Regions from separate parts of the Homo sapiens genome. Here region 1 is linked to region 2. Evidence: promoter capture Hi-C in human tissues and cell types (Jung and others, 2019). All regions are on one chromosome and are shown on one strand. Each heading gives the region's core, a stretch centred on a gene start or on the middle of the fragment in contact. The rest is flanking DNA. Distances are from core to core; before and after follow the strand shown. Region 1 holds the start of POLR2L (RNA polymerase II, I and III subunit L). Region 2 holds the start of IFITM1 (interferon induced transmembrane protein 1).

The links. Contacts are between HindIII fragments. The study calls those that stand out against the background at their distance.
Region 1: a contact is called between the fragment with the promoter of POLR2L here and the fragment with the promoter of IFITM1 in region 2, in 1 of the 25 tissues and cell types used here (small bowel).

The regions. Positions count from the first base shown.
Region 1 is chr11:838,990-843,781 of GRCh38, forward strand. POLR2L (RNA polymerase II, I and III subunit L) reads right to left here and starts at 3,540. Exons shown (of 2, transcript NM_021128.5): 1 at 3,425-3,540; 2 at 732-1,491. The coding sequence starts at 3,519. The coding sequence ends at 1,383. It overlaps TSPAN4 (tetraspanin 4), which reads left to right and starts at 3,863. Exons shown (of 9, transcript NM_003271.5): 1 at 3,863-3,926. RefSeq lists silencers at 1,024-1,073, 3,302-3,931, 4,042-4,131, 4,152-4,381, 4,367-4,535 and enhancers at 1,799-2,543, 2,544-3,289, 3,290-4,033. The HindIII fragment of the contact is 28,886 bases long and covers 1-4,792 here.
Region 2 is chr11:312,790-315,289 of GRCh38, forward strand. It overlaps IFITM1 (interferon induced transmembrane protein 1), which reads left to right and starts at 1,251. Exons shown (of 2, transcript NM_003641.5): 1 at 1,251-1,567; 2 at 2,133-2,483. The coding sequence starts at 1,382. The coding sequence ends at 2,324. RefSeq lists enhancers at 636-1,191, 1,192-1,747, 1,215-1,554, 2,085-2,244. The HindIII fragment of the contact is 8,559 bases long and covers 1-2,500 here.

The DNA of each region.
Region 1 (4,792 bases), core at 2,290-4,789, 530 kb after region 2:
CTGATGCCAGGGACAGCTGAGCACAGGCCTCAGCAGAAAGAACTGAACATGTTCCTAAATGGTGAGATGGTGTGTTCAGAGCCCCTGGGGGAGAGGAAAAATGGTTTCCAAAACCCTTCTGGCCATGGTGGGGAGCAGACGTGGGAAGGGTGCAGACTGGGGGCCGTGCCCAGGTAAGAGGTGTCAGGCAGGTGGGGTGGGGGCAGTAGGGTGAGGGGGTTTACATGGAGGAGCCTATAGGCCCTGCTGGGGGCCAGAGGGTAGGAGGTACCAGAGCCTGGTGTCTGGCAGAGGTACCCTGGAGATGGGAGCCAGGGCTCGGTCACTGATTGTGCCCCCCACTGCCCAGGTTCCTGTCCTTAAGGCTCAGAACTGTAGACCCTCAGGCAGACCCGTTCTCCCCTACCAGAGGACACCACGCCAGATATCTGGGCAGCAGGGACATCTGACCTGGGGTGCTTGCTGGCAGCACTGCCTGGACAGCAGGGCCTCCTTAGGGCCACCTCCCAACCCAGCTAGGAGCGTCTTAAGGCCTGCCCTCCCTGCTGGGCTTGGGTGGGACGCTCAGGGACAGGCAGCAGTGGGCAGAGGCCAGCAGGTACTGGCAGCCCTGACCACAGCAGAGACTGGGCCCCAGAAAATCTGTTTCTCTCTTCTTTTTCATAGTTGTGTTGAGACAGAGTCTTACTCTGTTGCCCAGGCTGGAGTGCAGTGGTGCAAACACAGTTCACTGCAGTGGCAACCTCCCAGGTTCCAGTGATCCTCCTGCCTCAGCCCCGAGTGGCCGGGACTACAGGTGTGAACACTGTGCCCAGCTAATTTATTAAATTTTGTTGTAGAGATGGGGTCTCATTATGATGCCCAGGCGGGTCTTGAATTTCTGGACTCAAGTGATCCTCCTGCCTTGGCCTCCCAAAGTCCTGGGATTATAGGGGTGAGCCCCTTTGCCCGGCCTAAATCTGGCTCTTCAGATTCCGAGAGAGAGGGTACAGGAGCCTCTCTGCTCAGCCTGAAGAACACCCAGAAGGAGGGAACCTCAAAGAGCCCCGAGATGGAAGGCTCTCCTGGCAGCGCCTCCTGCAGGGGTGCCTGTGGAACAGGCTGGCCCCAGGGCTAGGAGAGTTCATGGCCCAGTCTGCTTCACTGGGCTGCCACAGTGTGAAAGCTGGGCCTAGACCTGGCTCCTGACATCCTAGTGAGGGCTGGGACCTTAGTGGTTCTGAAAGACCTTTACTGGATGGTTCCTTCCAGAGTGGGGTATCGGATACACACACACTGCGGCCAGGCATTACGCCAGCTCCCGGATGCCTCAGCCTCGTGAATTCGGGGCAGGACGCTCAGGGCCCATGGTCAGCACAGCGGGTGGGTGGGTTCCAGCGTGGTCACTTCTCCAGGGGTGCATAATTGAGCAGCTTCTCGATCAGGTCCACGTGGGCCAGCAGCATCCGGCGGCAGCAGTAGCGCTTCAGGCCCAGGGCATCCAGCGCATCCCTGTGTCGAGGGGAGGAGCAGAGGCCAACTGAGTTCTCTACGGTCTGCAAAGGCCTGGAGCCCACATCCAACCTGCCTCTCACTGCCTGCTGGCCTCACCCCCCCCGCCACCGGCAAGGCGAACAGATTCACCCGGCTCAGAAGCTGAGATCTAGCAGTATGATCCTGGCTGGAGTAACCTGGAAATGCCCAGAACCCTGGGTGGAGCGTGAGGAGCCTCCTCTCCCACCTACTCTGGCTGTACGTGTGTGTGTATAACGTATGTAAGAAATGTAAATGAAATGAAAACGAAGTAATTGCGGGGAGCTTAGAAAACCAAGACCACCAAGGTGCTGATGTGCAGCCACCTCATCCAGCACTGGCCACGGCAGGGTAGCTCTCCAGGGGCCTGCCCTTAGCTGGTTCACCCCCACCCCAGCCAGAGCAAGCCCTGCTCTGCCGCTGTGGGGTCTTTCCTCACCTCTGCTTCCTTCCATCAGAGAGAGACTGCTTCTCCACGGAGCCACCTCTCCCACTTCCCAAGCCAATTAGAAGCTTTCATTTCCCTGGGACCTAGCTCCAGTCACCCTCAAGACCTCCAGAAAACTCCCACACCGATGGCTCCAATGTGCAGAGACACAGAAGCTTGGGAAAGGGGAGGCCACATGGGAGGCCCCTGCCGTTCCTATCCGGGGAAAGGGTCTGGACAGGCCGCCAGCCACTCAGTCTAGCAGCCCACTCGCTTTCCTCGTTTGTCCAGCAAGCTGCACCAAGTGCCGATGGCAGGCTGGCGCACACAAGCCCAGGGCTTCACATGTGACGAAGACTCAGTGGGCGAGGGTCAGACTCCAGCGGGGGCACCAAGACTCAGGCACCGTGGTGACAGCAGCACCAAGGGACAAGCACAGGAGAAAGACGCCTCCCCTACAAAGCCTGATGAGGGTGGTCAGCAAGTCTACCCTGCATTTCTTTTTCTGTGTGTGTGTGTGCGTGAGACGGAGTTTCACTCTCTCTTCCAGGCTGGAGTGCAGTGGCGTGATCTTGGCTCACTGCAACCTCCACCTGCCTCCCAGACTCAAGCGATTTTCTCGTCTCAGCCTCCCAAGTAGCTGGGACCACAGGTGTGCACCGCCATGTCCGGCGAATTAAAAAGATAGAGCCAGGCGCGGTGGCTCACGCCTGTAACCTCAGCACTTTGGGAGGTCGAGGCGGGTGGATCACCTGAGGTCAGGAGTTCCAGACCAGCCTGGCCAACATGGCGAAATCCCATCTCTACTGAAAATACAAAAATTAGCCGGGCGTGGTGGCACACGCCTGTAGTCCCAGCTACTCGGGAGGCTGAGACAGGAGAATTGCTGGAGCCCAGGAGGCGGGGGTTGCAGTGAGCCGAGATCGCGCCACTGCACTCCAACCTGGGCGACGGAGCGAGACTCCGTCTCAAAAAAGAAAAATAAAATAAAATAAATTTCTGGAGATCAGGGTCTCCCCAGGTTGTCCAGGCTGGTCTCGACCTCCTGGGCTCAAGCAAGCCTCTCGCCTCGGCCTCCCAAACTGCTGGGATTACAGATGTCAGCCGCCGCGCCCGCCCGTCCTGCAGCGAGGTTTGCAGGACATGGGGTGGGCCTGGGGGCAGAGATGGGAATAGGGCGGAGGCCAAGGGCTTTACTGCGGGTGACAAGACGCCTGCGACCCGCCAGGCCACCTAGAATCCCCAGGACACCACTGGTTTGAAGCCCAACTCCGTTCTCTTCCCCAGACTTCAGGGGATAAGGTTCTCCCGAAAGCAGATCACAGAGCGGGGCTGGAGAAGCCGGGCCTGAAGCTGCTCATGGGGCGCTGGCCTCAGGCAGCGCTGCGCCTCCCGCCCCGGCGCGCACCCCAGGGCGGACTCAGCCCCCAGCCCCGGCCCGCGCCCCACGGCGGACTCAGCCCCTAGCCCCGGCCCGCGCCTCACCCCTCGGTGTACTCGGCCTGCAGCAGCCCCAGGTAAGCCTCCCACTTGTTGCCGACGATCTTGCCACAAGTGAAGCAGCGTACAGGGATGATCATGGCGGCGGCGCGTCCCAGACTGCCCGGCCCGGCCCGGCCGCACGCGAAGAACCCCCCCAGGCCCCGCCCCGGGCGCGTCCACTGTTGCGGGAGAATCGGCTCCGCTCGTTCTCCGCTGTTCCGGCCGTCCCTCCACCGGCCCCGCCACCGCTGGCCGCAGTTTCCGCCGCGATAGGGGCTTCCCGTGCGTCCCGGGGCTCCTGGGCCTGTGCGTCCCGGGGCTCCCGGGCCCGCGCGGCCGCGGCAGCAGCAGACCGCACACCCCCGCCCACCGTCTTGGTGCATCCCGGCGCTACGGCGTCTGAGCAGGGCCGTAAAGCTGCGGCGGCGGTTCGCGTTTCTCGTGTCCGCTTGACTGACAGCTGCGCGGCGGGAGCGGGCGGCGCGAGCGGGAGGCGGCGGCGCAGGTACTGCGCCTGGGGGTTGTGGGGGCGTGCGGCCAGGGTCCCGTGGCCGGAGGTGTCCGACCGGGAGCGGCTGGAGCCGGACGCGAGCGGGGCGCGCGAGTTCGAGCCCAGAGCCGACACGCAGCAACAAGTGGGGTCCGGCGCGGGGGCTCGGGGAGAGGGCGGGCGGGGGCCGGGGCGGGTCTTCCTGCCGCCCCTCCTGGCCGCGCCGAGTAGTGGGTTCCTCCGCCTCGGCCTCTGCCCGCGGGGTGTCCGGGGCTCTCGGCGCTGAGTTCGGGGGTCCCATTCTGGACGCGGCCCAGCCCCTAGGGGCGCCGCCCTGGCCTCAGCTGCGCAATTACAGCCCCCGCCGGCAGCTCCCCGCCCCGGGCTCCTGTCCGCGTTCTTTCCGCTCTTTCCCGGGAATGGGGTCGGGGTGCGCCCTCCCGGGTCCCGGCTCTGCTGGCTGCTCGCCGTCCCGAGCTCCCGACGCTCAGACGCGCCTCTGAGCACGGGGAGAGGGGACCCGGGAGGGAGGTCGGGGAGGGAGTCGTGGAAGAGGTGCTTTTTGAGCTGAACCTGGAAGACCCCGGCACAGGGGATCCCTGGGCAGACTCCCGGAGGCTGCACTGGCAGGACCCCCTGAAGGCCTCAGCTCTGGCTTGCCCTGGAGCTCAGGGCCTACGGACGACGAGGGACGAGGAGCCCGTGTCTCTCGGATGGAGTGCGGGGGGGCTGGCACCAGCACCCTTCTTGCTGTGCCCCTGGGGTGGGGGTGAGGAAATGGGGGGTCGGTGTGCAGTGAGAGGCAAAGAAGGCTCCTTGGAGGTGCGAGGTGGGCTGTGGGGGTGGGTGGGCCGCAAAGCGGCACCCATGGGGGGCTCTGG
Region 2 (2,500 bases), core at 1-2,500:
ACCAGTAATTTTAAAGCTAGCTTATTAAAGATTCTACTTAAGTCACATGAACGTGAAAAGCATTTAGGCTTATTATTTAATTTATGAGTACTCTTTAAGTTTAAGCTAAATTTGGTAACTTGTGGCCAAAAACACATAACGAAATATGTGTATGTGCACATATACACACATACACACTCAAGCAAAAGTATGGTTTTACTTCAGAACTCCAGCCATGAGATAGTAATACAAATTCATTGGTTTACACAAACAATAAAAAGAAATGGTTGGATGCAAACAGTGGATTTTATCTCTGTAGAAAAGTAACAGCAGACTTAAAGCAGGCAGAAACGAAAGCAGAAAGAGAACTTAAGAACATTACATTAATAATTGCAGGCCCACCTTTGGGCTCTGATTTTTCCTTTATGTAATTTGCAATTTGTAATTCATGATCCTTGTGCCTGAGGGCTCCCTTCTGCTACTCAGTCTACAATTCCCCGTCCCTGTGAAGGGGCACCCAGGCCTGACAGCCCCAGACTTGGCTTTGCCAACCCTCCAGGTCTCTCCTGCATGGCTAGGACCCAACGCCTAGGTCATCCAGCACTCACCCCAACCAAAGCCATGGGAATTGCTGGGACCCGGAAGGTAGGGGGTGGCACATGTGTGCCCTGTGCTCTGAAGCTGCCCCTACAGGCCCTGGAATCCTCCCCGTGTCTCAACACACTACCCTCTGGGGAGTCAGTTCTCCCCAGAGTCCCCGTTCCTGGGCCTGGAGGGCTGCTTTGGGGCAGGAAACTTTGGCCACCAGGCCTCTGACCTGCACCAGGAGACACTGGGAGGTTTAGTCCCCAAACCCGCACAGAGCAGGACTGCAGCCTGAGGAAAGAGCAAGGATTTCAGGAGAGAGGCCTGCGACAAGTGAGGTGAGGGCTTTTGGGGGATTGTCCTGGCGCCTGGAGTGTGGGGGCCTGGCAGGGGCCCTGAACCGGGACAGTGAGGTCCTGTACTTGCTGGCCTGGGGTGGACAGAACCCAAGCCTGGGTAAAATCCCCAGGGCCCCCTAAACCCAACACTTAGGAAGTCACTAGTCCTGACTTGAGTTTCTGATGAGGAAGCCTCTCTCCTTAGCCTTCAGCCTTTCCTCCCACCCTGCCATAAAGTAATTTGATCCTCAAGAAGTTAAACCACACCTCATTGGTCCCTGGCTAATTCACCAATTTACAAACAGCAGGAAATAGAAACTTAAGAGAAATACACACTTCTGAGAAACTGAAACGACAGGGGAAAGGAGGTCTCACTGAGCACCGTCCCAGCATCCGGACACCACAGCGGCCCTTCGCTCCACGCAGAAAACCACACTTCTCAAACCTTCACTCAACACTTCCTTCCCCAAAGCCAGAAGATGCACAAGGAGGAACATGAGGTGGCTGTGCTGGGGCCACCCCCCAGCACCATCCTTCCAAGGTCCACCGTGATCAACATCCACAGCGAGACCTCCGTGCCCGACCATGTCGTCTGGTCCCTGTTCAACACCCTCTTCTTGAACTGGTGCTGTCTGGGCTTCATAGCATTCGCCTACTCCGTGAAGGTGCGTATGGCCCTGGCGGAAATCCAGGGGGTGCCGGTGAGCCTGGGGCTCCACCTGCCCACATGCTGCCTGGGGTGGGGACTTGTGTGTCCCTGTGACTGTGAGTTTGTGTGCACCTCTGCCCCGTGTGTGCTCACGTCAGTAGCTTTGTCTGTGTGATCTGTGTGTGTGTGTGGCTTTGGGGAATCTGCCCAGTGCAGGTCTAGGAGGAGGCTCCAGGAGGCTGGCTGGCTGGCTCAGAGTCTGTCCCTGGCTATCCATTAGCCCAGAGCAATTCTCCCTATAGCCCAGTAAGAAATTACACCCTCACCTTCCAGACTGGCACCCAGGCTCTCCCAGAAAGTGAGAAGGGAACTCACAGGTGACTTCACCCCATGGTGGGGAGAACAGCCTGTGCTGGGGCCAAGGCAGAAGGAGGATGAGCCCCGAGGCTCCTGGAGAGTCTGAGCCCGGGTGAGGAAGGGGAGGAGGTGGTCCCTGATCTCAGGGCGGGGAGGAGACGGAGCCATAGCACGCGGCTCTCAGCTGGGGGATCCTGGTCCCCTCACCATCTCCTCTCCCCCAGTCTAGGGACAGGAAGATGGTTGGCGACGTGACCGGGGCCCAGGCCTATGCCTCCACCGCCAAGTGCCTGAACATCTGGGCCCTGATTCTGGGCATCCTCATGACCATTGGATTCATCCTGTTACTGGTATTCGGCTCTGTGACAGTCTACCATATTATGTTACAGATAATACAGGAAAAACGGGGTTACTAGTAGCCGCCCATAGCCTGCAACCTTTGCACTCCACTGTGCAATGCTGGCCCTGCACGCTGGGGCTGTTGCCCCTGCCCCCTTGGTCCTGCCCCTAGATACAGCAGTTTATACCCACACACCTGTCTACAGTGTCATTCAATAAAGTGCACGTGCTTGTGATGATGCTGTGACTTCAT